Linked DNA regions of Homo sapiens: all the other regions are linked to region 1. Evidence: promoter capture Hi-C in human tissues and cell types (Jung and others, 2019). All regions are on one chromosome and are shown on one strand. The core of a region is centred on a gene start or on the middle of the fragment in contact, and the rest is flanking DNA. Distances in the headings are between cores, read along the strand shown. Region 1 holds the start of GALNT4 (polypeptide N-acetylgalactosaminyltransferase 4). Region 2 overlaps TMTC3 (transmembrane O-mannosyltransferase targeting cadherins 3). Region 3 has its middle 70 kb from the start of LINC00615. Region 4 has its middle 62 kb from the start of TMTC3. Region 5 has its middle 86 kb from the start of LINC00615.

What was found. Contacts are between HindIII fragments. The study calls those that stand out against the background at their distance.
Region 2: a contact is called between a fragment that was not itself captured here and the fragment with the promoter of GALNT4 in region 1, in 1 of the 25 tissues and cell types used here (IMR-90 fibroblasts).
Region 3: a fragment that was not itself captured here is called in contact with the fragment with the promoter of GALNT4 in region 1 in 1 of the 25 tissues and cell types used here (dorsolateral prefrontal cortex).
Region 4: a contact is called between a fragment that was not itself captured here and the fragment with the promoter of GALNT4 in region 1, in 1 of the 25 tissues and cell types used here (hippocampus).
Region 5: a contact is called between a fragment that was not itself captured here and the fragment with the promoter of GALNT4 in region 1, in 1 of the 25 tissues and cell types used here (mesenchymal stem cells).

What each region holds. Positions count from the first base shown.
Region 1 is chr12:89,523,546-89,526,229 of GRCh38, reverse strand. GALNT4 (polypeptide N-acetylgalactosaminyltransferase 4) reads left to right here and starts at 1,434. Exons shown (of 1, transcript NM_003774.5): 1 at 1,434-2,684. The coding sequence starts at 1,681. POC1B-DUSP6 (POC1B-DUSP6 readthrough) reads left to right here and starts at 183. Exons shown (of 11, transcript NR_189589.1): 1 at 183-349; 2 at 1,026-1,110. It overlaps POC1B (POC1 centriolar protein B), which reads left to right and starts at 183. Exons shown (of 12, transcript NM_172240.3): 1 at 183-349; 2 at 1,026-1,110. The coding sequence starts at 335. It overlaps POC1B-GALNT4 (POC1B-GALNT4 readthrough), which reads left to right. Exons shown (of 3, transcript NM_001199782.1): 1 at 1-349; 2 at 1,026-1,110; 3 at 2,557-2,684. The coding sequence starts at 75. It also overlaps POC1B-AS1. RefSeq lists silencers at 228-487, 1,038-1,417 and an enhancer at 1,508-1,717. The HindIII fragment of the contact is 7,763 bases long and covers 1-2,684 here.
Region 2 is chr12:88,170,611-88,173,294 of GRCh38, reverse strand. It overlaps TMTC3 (transmembrane O-mannosyltransferase targeting cadherins 3), which reads right to left. Exons shown (of 14, transcript NM_181783.4): 8 at 550-698. Among named protein-coding and RNA genes, the nearest start is that of TMTC3, 30 kb to the right of the region's middle. The HindIII fragment of the contact is 7,147 bases long and covers 1-2,684 here.
Region 3 is chr12:90,847,097-90,849,780 of GRCh38, reverse strand. No RefSeq gene overlaps it. Among named protein-coding and RNA genes, the nearest start is that of LINC00615, 70 kb to the left of the region's middle. The HindIII fragment of the contact is 4,404 bases long and covers 1-2,684 here.
Region 4 is chr12:88,202,820-88,205,503 of GRCh38, reverse strand. No RefSeq gene overlaps it. Among named protein-coding and RNA genes, the nearest start is that of TMTC3, 62 kb to the right of the region's middle. The HindIII fragment of the contact is 6,396 bases long and covers 1-2,684 here.
Region 5 is chr12:90,830,782-90,833,465 of GRCh38, reverse strand. No RefSeq gene overlaps it. Among named protein-coding and RNA genes, the nearest start is that of LINC00615, 86 kb to the left of the region's middle. The HindIII fragment of the contact is 7,187 bases long and covers 1-2,684 here.

The sequences.
Region 1 (2,684 bases), core at 185-2,684:
TCGCTCTTATTCCAGTCCTGGTTACTACCCCACTTCCTGACATCAAACCAGGGAGAACGCGAGTGTTAGTTAACATGGCTTGGTGTGTGGCCACAGCTGACCCGGCGCATACCTCCCGTCCTCTCTTTACAGGGCTGGCGGTGTCTCGGGGCTCGGCTGGCCATGCCTGGAGCGCGGGGTTTGACTGGGCCGCCGTTGTTGTAGTGACCGGGAGGCGCTGCCGCTCTGGGCAGACGGTTCCGGGAGCCGCACGGTCCCCTCTCCTTCCCCATCCTCTCCCCTCCCCTCTCCGGGTTCCCCCACCCACAGGAGCCTTGGGCCGACCACTCCCCCGATGGCCTCAGCCACGGTAAGGACGGGTTGGAGGTGGGGGGGGTCCCTCCCTGGAGCCTGTCCCGCGGGCTGCGGGGCCAGGTCCGGGCCGAAGCCGCACCTGGAGGGAGATGGAGGCAGGTGTCCGTAGCCGGGTCCTGAGCCCCTCGTCCCGGGGCGTCCGTATCTCACTCTCTGCCATCGGGGCGGACGGAGTGCGGAACCCAGACCCGGCTCCCGGACGCTCTTCCCCGAGTTCCGGAGCTCCGGACTGAGCTGGGCGGCCCCACGGCCCCCAGAATTCTCGGAGGGTTTCCGTGGAGCGCCTGCGTCAGAATCACCTAGGAAGTATTAAAAAAAAAAAAAGTACCAAAGCCGAGGCGCATCCTCGCACCTGCCTGCCTTGGGCCAGCGGGCGGGGCCCGGGAACGTGCATTTCAAAGGGGCCGCGGTTCCTGCGATGCGCTGGACTCTGGGAAGCGCGAACAGAGCGTTTTGCGGGCTCTGCGGGGAGAGCTGGCGCCGGCGTCTCCCTGTAGCAGGACTGGGCGCCGCGCCCGTGGGTGGGCTGCTGCCCGGCCCCGCCGCCCAGCCAAGCCGCCGCCTGGGTGGCCATTCCCAAGCCGGACTCCGGGGAAGTGGCAGCGTGGATCCCAGCCGCCAGAATTCGAGGTCTGCGGCGGCTTTCAAAACTTGACAACTTTCCTTTCCAGGAGGACCCCGTTCTGGAGCGTTATTTCAAAGGCCACAAAGCTGCGATCACCTCCTTGGACCTCAGCCCCAACGGCAAGCAACTTGGTAAGTCTTATTCTTGTTTTGCTTTTGTAATGAGACTAAACTCCATGGGCCGGAAACCTTTCCTCCTGTCCGGGCAGGGTCCCTAGGAGAACGGCTAAGGGCCTGTATGAGGGTTGAGAGCACCCGGAGACGAGGGCCCAGCGCGGCGGGGCGCAGCTAGGGCCCCCTCTGCCATCCCGGCCCCCAGCCCCCGGCCCGGCCAAGAGCCTCCTATCCAGCGGTCTGGGCCTGGCGGACGACTTTCGCAAACTAACCACCAGGAGGAGTGAGTGGGAAGGGGAGGGGTTTCTCCTCGGCCCGGGGAGGGTGGGGTGTTGGCTGGAGAGTTTGTGAAAAGTTGTGAGCCGAGCAGGAGGAAGTAGGGAGAGAGGAGTTGGGCTGTGCCGGAGGCCGAGGACCGAGAGGGCTCAGGTGACCCCTGGAAAGCCTGGGTGGCTGGAAAGGAGCCTAGCGCCTGCATGAAAGGAAGAACCTGCTGGGAAGTACCTGAGCTCGAGCTGTGGGTTCCGCCGCCCTTCCCCTGCGTGGTGGCTTGGTGGCCGCGTCTGCGCCTCAGCCCTGAGAATCCGGATGGCGGTGAGGTGGACTTGGGCAGGCAAGAGCTGCCTGCTGCTGGCGTTTTTAACAGTGGCCTATATCTTCGTGGAGCTCTTGGTCTCTACTTTTCATGCCTCCGCAGGAGCCGGCCGTGCCAGGGAGCTGGGGTCAAGAAGGCTCTCAGACCTCCAGAAAAATACGGAGGATTTGTCTCGACCGCTTTATAAGAAGCCCCCTGCAGATTCCCGTGCACTTGGGGAGTGGGGGAAAGCCAGCAAACTCCAGCTCAACGAGGATGAACTGAAGCAGCAAGAAGAACTCATTGAGAGATACGCCATCAATATTTACCTCAGTGACAGGATTTCCCTGCATCGACACATAGAGGATAAAAGAATGTATGAGTGTAAGTCCCAGAAGTTCAACTATAGGACACTTCCTACCACCTCTGTTATCATTGCTTTCTATAACGAAGCCTGGTCGACTTTGCTCCGTACCATTCACAGTGTTTTAGAAACTTCTCCTGCAGTTCTTTTGAAAGAGATCATCTTGGTGGATGACTTGAGTGACAGAGTTTATTTGAAGACACAACTTGAAACTTACATCAGCAATCTTGATAGAGTACGCTTGATTAGGACCAATAAGCGAGAGGGGCTGGTTAGGGCCCGTCTGATTGGGGCCACTTTCGCCACTGGGGACGTCCTCACTTTCCTGGATTGTCACTGTGAGTGTAATTCCGGTTGGCTGGAACCGCTTTTGGAAAGGATTGGGAGAGATGAAACAGCAGTTGTGTGTCCTGTTATAGACACAATTGATTGGAATACTTTTGAATTCTATATGCAGATAGGGGAGCCCATGATTGGTGGGTTTGACTGGCGTTTAACATTTCAGTGGCATTCTGTCCCCAAACAGGAAAGGGACAGGCGGATATCAAGAATTGACCCCATCAGATCACCTACCATGGCTGGAGGACTGTTTGCTGTCAGCAAGAAATATTTTCAGTACCTTGGAACGTATGACACAGGAATGGAAGTGTGGGG
Region 2 (2,684 bases), core at 113-2,612, 1.4 Mb after region 1:
TAGTGCCACAGCATAAGTATACAATGAGATAATACCTATAACAATTATAGTTCCTAAGCATATATACAGTGTGACTATGCTGTTCCTTAACTGTTAGTTTGAGGCAACTAGGATACAAAGATTATAATGAAGATAGTGATGATAGCAAGAAATTACAGATTGCTTACTATATGCATTTTATATATATTAACTCAATATGACTCACTTAAGTAGGATGACTATTATCTTAGTTCACTGAATATGGAAGTGGCAATGGTCATTTGAGACTTTATTCTCAGTAACATCCTTGTTTTCATTTGGATCTGACTCAAAGTTTGTTCTGTCTCAGGCTGTAAAATCAAATTACATAAATATAGGGAAGAACACAGAATAAGTAGGTGCCATGGAGCTTTCCTAACTTGACTTACAAGACAAATGAGGAGACTATGGAGATGAAAAACCAAAAGATACAAAAGCATGACTTAGAAAACTGAACTAAATATTTAAATTTTAAAATGTGTCACACTTAATTCCATAGTAAGCATTACATGAACTGACATTTAAATTCACCTTTTTGTTGATATTTTCTGCCATCCATGGGCTACCAAAATACAGAACCCCATGCTGGGAACATATAATACTCGCTCGGCAACAACAAATCCAACTGGAAAAAAAAGGTTCGATGCAGGAATAAATGGTAATGCCATTAAACAAAGCGCCTACAAAAAAAAAAAGAAGATTTAATAATTTATAATAAATTTAAAATAATTTATAATAAATTAAGAAATATATGGGCATCTGATACTTGAATCCAAATATTTTATCATTTAACCTGGATAGTGTACTGCTAAACTATTTTTAATAATACTGTGAAGAATATTAATTTAAACATAAAGAAGGCAACTTAGACATTAACAAACATCAGGATGTACGTAAGCAAGGTGAAATGGAAATCTTGAATTCTAAAAGTTAAAATTAGAGGATATCTATGAACTTTGAAAACAAGATTTCTAGGTGTGTTTGGGAGTGATTACTCCTTGAAATTAAAATCTAAACCATTACAGCATTTTAAATTTGAGAAGCATAATTAGCTATATCTCACTGGTTTTCTGTAAAGAATATGCTTGCATAGTAAAATATAAAAACTTTAATAAATGTAAATATTCACATCTTTAAGCAAAAATTAAACAATAAAGGTTCATCCAGTTAAATAGTGGAAGTACTTTTTGAAATTCTATCTAAAATAACACACTCAAACAATCATAAGAAAACAACCCAATTTAAAAAATGGGCAAAGTAGCTAAATAGATATTCCTCAGAAGACAACATGCCAATGGCCATCAAGTATATAAATGTTCAACATCACTATCATTAAGGAAGTGAAAATTAAAACCACAATGAGATGTCATCGCACACCTGTAAGAATGGCTATTATCAAAAAGTCAAAAGATAACAAATGTTGGCAAGAACGTAAAGGAAACACTTGCACACTGTTGGTGGGATGTAAATTAGCATTGCCATTAAGCAAACAGTAGGAAGGCTTCTCAAAAAATTAAAAATAGAACTACCATGTGACCCAGCATCCTCACTACTGGGTATAGATCCAAAGGAAATGAAGTCAGTATGTTGAAGAGAGATCTGACCTCCCCTGTTCATTGCAGCATTATTCAATTTACAATAGCCAAGATATGGGAACAACCTAAGTATCCATCAACAGATTACTGGATGAAAAAAATGTGGTACATATACACTTTAGAATACTATTTAGCCTTAAAACAGAAGGAAATCCTGTCATTTCTGACATGGATAAACCCGGAGGACACCATGTTAAGAGAAATAAGCCAGCCACAGAAAGACAAACAACGCATGATCTCACTTGTATGTAGAATTTGTAAAAGTTGAACTCACAGAAGTACAGTACATGGTGGTCACCAGGGTTGGAGGGAGAAGGTTGGGGAGAGGTTGGTCAAAAGGCATAAAACTTCAGTTAGGAGGAATACAAATTAAATAAATAAAAATTTTACACATCTAACTTATGTGCGTGTGGTAAAAATAAGATGATAATGAAATATGCTAATAGGTTTTTCAACAAAACAAAACCACAAATGCTGATTAAAAAAAAGCTAAACATGTCAGTTTTTACAACTTTACTACTTTAAGAAACCACATGATATTGGAAACTGAGGGAATGAAATCAGGTGTCGTTCAGACAAGATAGCAGACTACTGTACCTTAGCATTACTTCACATAACATCCTGAAAGGTTAAATGTATTTAACTAGAAGCTTAGTGTATGCATAAAAATAAAACTGCCCCCCTTTAAATCAACAGTCTTTCATTCTACAAGAATTTCTAAAATTATTAATATAACACTGAACATTGAAATGAAACATCATAAAAATGTTTAGATTTCTTACCATTTTGAAAATGGGATGACATGTGGTTTCCACATTATACACCCATAAAAAACTAGCACATAAATAGCTTGTGAAGGAAATAAGTTTGGTCGTTATTAGGAAATCTGTTTCTATGGACATCTGCTTCCATATTTTGTTACCCCGATTTGTTTTACAGTACTTAATTGAATAAACAAGTTAAACCTTTAGCTTCACAAGTTTGAGACTCTTCTAATGGGCTAAGGTGAAAGAATGTCCTTTTTTTCTATTTGACTTAATTTGTGAAATATAGAGGTGTATACATTGAAAA
Region 3 (2,684 bases), core at 54-2,553, 1.3 Mb before region 1:
TGACCATTTCGGGCATGAGAGTCAGTCTGTATGATCATCATGACAGAGTTGTCTTTGTCTCTGTGGAACTCATAAGTTAAGGCATCAGGCTTGTTGAAGAGATTCCTTTTGTTTTTCATTTTATTTTTGTTGCTCTGATCACAGTGAGACCATCTGGCATACTGTCGATGTCTGCAAACACAAATTTAAGACCCTTGAGAAAATATAACATGCCAGGACGATTATAATGATGGCTATCAGGAGGATAGTACCAAGAAAGTGGAGTGTGCCCCTTAATCAAGGTCCCCTTGAACCAAATCAACTATTTCTAAAGAAACAGAAGAAAAGCAAAGGTCAATGACGAAAATAAACCAAAAATTCAGCTCTGAGTCCAGAGGGTAATTAGTCAAGAAGGTTTCTAGATTTTAGCTCAAGGCATATGTTCCCGGTTTGCAGTTTGAGTGTCCCTGCTTATGGCATTGGACATTTCAGGCAACTTCCTGAGTGGCCCACACGTCAGGCATGAGGGATATCCTCTGAAATTACATCCAATTGTTGATCTACAGCTTGTCGTGTTTCAGAAACAGAGCAGTTCTTCTTTTTAGTGATTCCAAGTCAGGAAAGTGGGAGAAAATTGGATTGTGGGAATCTATACCAATTCAAGATCCAGTTTAATTTATAGGTAAATAATGAAACTCAAAAGCAATGATTAGAGCCACGATCTAATAACAGGTGTACTATAGTTTCTTCTGAAACATAGTTTTTCTCTCTATAGTCATCCAAATTTTTACTGAAGATAATCAGAGTAAGAATAATTTGATTACCAAATAAATTTAGTCTCATCAAACTTGGCCTATTTATATAAGTGCAGCAAGACAGTAAGAATAGTGATTGGCCATATAGGTGCTTTTATTTATTTATTTTTCTGTTGTTGTTGTTATTGTTGAGTTGGAATCTCTCTCTGTCACCCAGGGTGGAGTGCAGTGGCACAACCTCAGCTCACTGCAACCTCTGCCTCCCAGGTTCAAGCGATTCTCCCACCTCAGCCGTTCAAGTAGCTGGGACTATAGGCATGCATCGCCACACCCAGCATATATATATATATATATATTCAGTTTGTCCTATATTCTTTATCTTTTTAATTGTGGAGCAATTAGTCACTCTAGGACAAAAACTACTCTCTTTTCAAAACACATCCTCATACTTCTTTCTTTATAAAACATGCCTACTTGCCTTGCATACAGAGTCGTTCACTTATTGTTTCTAGAAGTTTGTATTACATATAATAATCCGAATTTTTAACTTTTAGTAACTTTAACTTTTACTAAAAACTAGTAGGCATTGTTAACTGCTTTAGATTAGCATTTTGTAGATAAACATTCTCTCATAATACAATTTTTATGTCTTTAATTAATGGATTTATACACATTCAACTTCTTTATTCCATATAAAAAACGAGATGCCAAAATATATATACTTTAAACTTATGTTCAGCAATTAATGCTAAAGTATTTTAACTTAGGCCGGGCGCAGTGGCTCAAGCCTGTAATCCCAGCACTTTGGAAGGTCAAGATGGGCGGATCACGAGGTCAGGAGATTGAGACCATCCTGGCTAACACGGTGAAACCCTGTCTCTACTAAAAATACAAAAAAAATTAGCCGAGCGTGGTGGCGGGGCCTGTAGTCCCAGCTACTCGGGAGGCTGAGGCAGGAGAATGGTGTAAACCAGGCAGGCGGAGCTTGCAGTGAGCCGAGATCACGCCACTGCACTCCAGCCTGGGCGGCAGAGCGAGACTCCGTCTCAAAAAAAAAAAAAAAAAAAAAAAAAAGAAATAACGCAGACATTTAATGACAATCTGTTGTCATTAACAGTTGTTTAAAAATGTGTAGCACTTCCCCCTTTGTTCTCTCTCTCCTGCTCTGCTATGTGAAGATGTGCCTGCCTCCCCTTCGCCTTCCACCATGATTGTAAGTTTGTTGAGGCTTCTTCATCCATGCTTCCTGTACAGCCTGAAGAACTGTGAGTCAATTAAACCTCTTTTTTCATAAACTCTGCAATCTCAGGTAGTTGGTTATATCAATGTGAGAATGGACTAATATATTCTCCAAGTGGGCTTTGAAATCAGTAGCAATTTCTTTTCTCTGCAGGTCTAGTTGATGGATCAGTCAGCATGGACAGGAAACACTTTAGGAATGGCTTTCAAAAGACTGTGTGTGTGTGTGTTTCTTTTACTGGCTCATACATGGGCCAGATAGGGGTTTGTGATCACTAATATCCTAAAGGCAGTACCATTCTGACTCTTGCGTCCAATTTGAGCTTCTCTGGATCCTATCAACATGGATTTAACTAGATTACTAAGTTTAGGGTGAAACTCATTAATGCATAGGACAGACAAAGCCTTTCCTTTGCCAACAGGGATACCTTTCATTACTGCTCTGAGCGCCAAGATTGTAACCAATGCATAAGGGTGGCTAAAAGCAGACTGGGCCCCGCATGGTGGCTCATGCCTGTAATCCCAGTAGTTTGTGAGGCCAAAGCAGGAGAATCACTTGAGTCCAGGAGCTCAAGACCAGGCTGGGGATCATAGTGAGGTCCTGTTTCTACAAAATCAATCAATAAATAAACAAATAAATAAATAATTAGTCAGGTGTGGTGGCATATGACTATAGACCCACTACTTTGGAGGTTAATGTGAGAGGATTGC
Region 4 (2,684 bases), core at 64-2,563, 1.3 Mb after region 1:
CAGCAGGGCAGTCAAATCTTAAAGCTCCAAAATGATATCCTTTGACTCCATGTCTCACATGCAGGTCACACTGATTCAGGAGATGGGTTCTCATGGTCCTGGGCAGCTCTGCCTCTGTGGCTTTTTGGGGTACAGCCTCCTTCCTGGCTGCTTTCATGGGCTGGTGTTGAGTGTCCACAGCTTTTTCAGGTGCACAATGCAAGCTGTTGGTAGATCTACCATTCTGGGTTCTGGAGGATGGTGGCCCTCTTCTCACAGCTCCACTAGGCAGTGCCCCAGTAGGGACTCTGTGTGGAGGCTCCAACCCCACATTTCCCTTCTGTCCTGCCCTAGCAGAGGTTCTCCATGAGGGCCCTGCCCCAGCAGCAAACCTGCCTGGGCATCCAGGCGTTTCCATACGTCTTCTGAAATCTACTCGGAGGTTCCCAAACCTCAATTCTTGACTTCTGTGTACCTGCAGACTGAACAACATGTGAAAGTTGCAAAGGCTTGGGGCTTGTAGCCTCTGAAGCCATGGCCCGAGCTGTACCTTGGTCCCTTTTAGTCATGGCTGGAGTGGCTGGAACACAGGACACCAAGTCCCTAGGCTACACACAGCACAGACACTCTGGGCTTGGCCCACTAAACCATTTTTTTTTTCCCTAGACCTTCAGGTCCATGATGGGAAGGGCTGCCATGAAGACCTCTGACATGCCCTGGAGACATTTCCCACATTGTCTTGGGGATTAATTTGGCTTCTAGTTACTTATGTAAATTTCTGCAGCTGGGTTGAATTTCTCCTTAGAAAATGGGATTTTCTTTTCTACTACACTGTCAGGCTGCAAATTCTGCAAACATGTATGCTCTTTTTCACTTTAAAAACTAAATTCCTTTAACAGCACACAAATCACCTCTTGAATGCTTTGCTGCTTAGAAATTTCTTCTGCCACATACCCCAAATCATCTTTCTCAACGTCAAAGTTCCACAGATCTCTAGGACAGGGGAAAAATGCCTCCAGTCTCTTTGCTAAAACATAACAAGAGTCACCTTTGCTCCAGTTCCCAACAAGTTCCTCATCTCCATCTGAGACCACTTCAGCCTGGATTTCATTGCTCATATCATTATCAGCATTTTGGTCAAAGCCATTCAACAAATCTCTAGGGAGTTCCAAACTTTCCCACATTTTCCTGTCTTCTGAGCCCTCCAAACTGTTCCAACCTCTGCCTGTTACTCAGTTCCAAAGTTGTTTCCACATCTTTGGGTATCTTTTTAGCAGCACCCCACTCTACTGGTACCAATTTACTGTATTAGTCTGTTTTCACACTGCTGATAAAGACATACTCGAGACTGGGCAATTTACAAAAGAAAGAGGTTTAATGGACTTAGTTCCACGTGGCTGGGGAGGCCTCACAATCATGGCGGGAGATGAAAGGCACATCTCACATGGTGGCAGACAAGAGAAGAGAGCTTGTTTAGGGAAACTTCTCCTTATATAATCATTAGGTCTCATGAAATGTATTCACTGTGATGAGAACAGCACAGGACAGACCTGCCCCCATGATTCAATTACCTCCCAGACAAACCATATCAGTATGGAAAACCATGGGGTCCTGGCAGATGCCTGCTGCATGGGTGGAGCCCTCACAGAGAACTTCTACTAAGGTAGTGCAGAGGGGAAATGTGGGGTTGGAGGCCCCACCCAGAATTTTCACTTGGGACACTGCTTAGTGAAACTGTGGGAAGGGAAGAAGACCAGTATCTTCCAGGCCTGAACATGGTTGATCCACTGGAGACTTTCACCCTTCATTTGGAAAGCCACAGACACTTGACTCCAACCCATGAGAGCAGCCTCAGGGGCTAAATCCTGCAAAGCTCCATTGGGTAGAGGTGCCCAAGGTCTTGGGAGCCCACCCCTCATATCAGTGTGCCCTGGATATGGGACATGGAGTCAAAGGAGATTATGTTGGAGTTTTATGATTTAATGATGGGCCTGCTGGATTTCGCAGTTGTGAGGGGCCTGTAGCTCCTTTCTTTTGGGCATTTTCTCCCTTTTGGAATGGGAATGTTTACCCAATGTCTGTATCTCCATTGTATCTTGGAAGTAAATAATTTGTTTTGATTTTACAGGCTCATAGGTAGAAGGGACTTGACCTGGAAATTTTGAGTTAATGCTGGAATGAGTTAAGACTTTTGCGGACTATTGGGGAGGCATGATTATATTTAGCAATGTGAGAAGAACATGAAATTTGGGGGGCCAGGGATGGATTGACATAATTTTGATATTTGTCCCCCCAAATCTCATGTTCAACTGTAATCTCTAATGTGGGAGGTGACTGGACCATAAAGGTGAATTTCTTATTAATGGTTTAGCACCATCCACTTGGTGATCTCCTCACTAGTGAGTGAGTTATCATGAGATTTAGTTGTTTAAAAAGTGTGTGGTGCTTCCCCCACTCCTATTGCTCCTGCTCTTGCCATATGGTGTGCCTGCTCCTGCTTCACCTTCTACCATAAGTAAAAGCTCCCTGAGCCCTCCATAGAAGCCAAGCAGATGCCAGCACCATGCTTATACATTGTGAGCCAATTAAACCTCTCTTTTAAAATAAATTACTCAGTCTGTTTTTTTTTTCCACACCAATGCAAGAATGCCCTAATAGTCTTTTCTTTTTACTATAGTTATTTTAAAGTATTTGGTAACCTTAGT
Region 5 (2,684 bases), core at 92-2,591, 1.3 Mb before region 1:
CCTCCTGGCCCACACTGACAGTTTCCAAGTGTAACAACCTGTTGCTTTTGCAAACCCTTGCTCGTTTGAAGCCTATGCTATCAGGTTATATTACCCACTCCTTTGCCTCCCTAATTACCCACTCCTTTGCCTCCTACCAATCTCTTGTCAAGCTCTCCAGGCATTCAAACTTTTAACTGGCTTGTTTGTTCAAAAGTCCTCAATATAATTATTTTTATTGCTGTTCTCACCAAACGTCTAATCTGCTGACTGACTGCTTTCTTATTATTCATCAGCTTTCACCTGTCTTCACTTTCTTCATTGTCTAGCATATATTTCATAACCCATGGTAATATGACAGTAACAATATTTGATGTGTATTAAATACTTTACCAGACACACTGTTTAAAGAGTTGTACATGCTTTACATTCAACTCACCCAACTGTATGAGGTAAGATCTATTATCCCCATTTCAAAATGGAGAAATCAATAGTCAATCATTTAAATATATATATGTAAATGATCCCCAATTTCCTCACTTGCTTCCTTCTTGCCATTGTTCTAAACTTGCACAACCTTGATCCTGAAGCAACCTAATTGTGTTTCCTCTTATTTGCACACAGACAGGTGAACTTTGCTGGAATAACTAACACAATTATTCAGACTGATTGTACTTTATGTTCTCAAGTGGGGACTCAGTACTACTGACAAGCGTATTTATGTTTTTCTGTGGGGCTAACTTCCCATTCTTTGGGATAACTACTACTTCTAGGGTCTCTTCTCACATGTCACACACCTCCGTGCCTACACTTCCCTCTCACCTGATGACCTCACTTCATACGTTGTTTAGAAGTAAGATGGCATTGAGAAGGAAACTCCCTCATTTTCATATTAATCCATCTGTGAACATACCTGCCCCTGCCACCTTTTGTCTCTCCCTGCTGCTGATGGACCTTTTCTTCCTCCTGTTGAAGGCCAGCCCTGCACTTCTGAGCTGAATCTTGCTTCTCAAGTATTGTGTTTCCTTCTCTCTTTGGAGCTTTTAACATTCCTTTAAATCTAAGCTGCCATTAAATATAGGTTGTGCCATTACTTTATGTACATTTATTTTATTTTCTTTAATCCTGGTAAAATATACAAAACACAGAATTTGCTATGTAAACCATTTTTAAGTGTGTAGTTCAGTGACAACAAGAACATTCACATTTTTGTATGATCATCGTCCATCTCCAAAACTTCTTTCATCCTCCCAAATAGAAATGACATACCCATTAAACAATTACTCCCCATTTTCCCCTACTCCTACCTCCCTTGCCCTAGCACTACCATTCTGCTTTCTGTCTCTATAAATAAGACCTCGTGAGTTACATCTTGAGGTACCTTTAGGTATCTCAGATAAGTGGAATCATACATTATGTTTTCTTCATCACTGGGTGATTTCACTTAGCATAATGTCATTAAGTCCCACCTGTGCTATAGCATATGTCAGCATGTCCTTCCTTTTTAGGGCTGATTATACTCTGTCACATGTATGTACCACATTTTGTTTATCCAGTCACCTGTTGATTGACACTTGGGAATATTCTACCTTCTGACTACCGTGAATAATGGTGCTATAAACATGGGTGTGCCTTCAATTCTTTTAAATGCATACCTAGTAGTGGAATTGCTGTATCACAGAGTAATTCTATGTTTAATTTTTTTGAAGACCTACTATATCATTTTCCATAGAGACTGCAGCATTTTACCTACTCACCAGCAATGCAGAAGAGTTTTGATTGTTTTTTTTACATCCTCATCAACATTTCTTAATTTGTTTTTTGTTACCACTTTTATAATAGCCTTTATCTGCATTTCACAGAGATAAAAAATATATGCTTGAAGACAGGAAAGCTAATAAAAAATTCCCAAATACTTGAACATCAAAGGCCTTCATCTTCAATGTAAGGATGTGTGAGGACAAAAGCCTACTAGGCAGAAAGGGAAAGCAATGGAATGTGCCAATTTTAACCTTGACACAGAATGAAAAGAGGAGGGGGGAAATAGCCCAAGAATTGAACACAAGTGAGCTTCAAAGACCTCAAGTGGAAAATTTAATCTAAAAAGGATTTTGGTGAATATTGCCTCAAGATGACTTGTAGAAGCTAATGCCAATCCTCTACACTTCATTTAATGGATTATGAAACATATTCCAAATTCAGAATCACTAAAATGTGAAAAAAACCCCTGTATTTTAAAATTGAAGAAATATGATATTTCTACCCAGAAAATCATTCCCAATTAACATATACACAGTGTCCTTCATCTTAAAAAATATAATAAATCTGAACCCCTATTTTCCTCAGCTATAACTCAATTTATTTGATTGTCTTTGTTGATACAGGTTTTTCAAGAGTAATCTCTACAAGGCTCTATCTGCTTTCTTTACCACAATTTACAGTTTTTAAAAAAACACTTTTTTTTAAATAATATAAATAATATGTAAGCACATTACCATTGTATAAGGCACAAAAATTACAGAAGAATGCAAGTTTTAAACCATTCTCTAATGCCTCCTTCCCTTCACAGTATAAATAAATAAATATATATTTATTTCACCGTGTTAGCCAGGATGGTCTCGATCTCCTGATCTCCTGATCCACCTGCCTCGGCCTCCCAAAGTGCTGGGATTACAGGCGTGAGCCACCGAGCCCAGCCATATTTA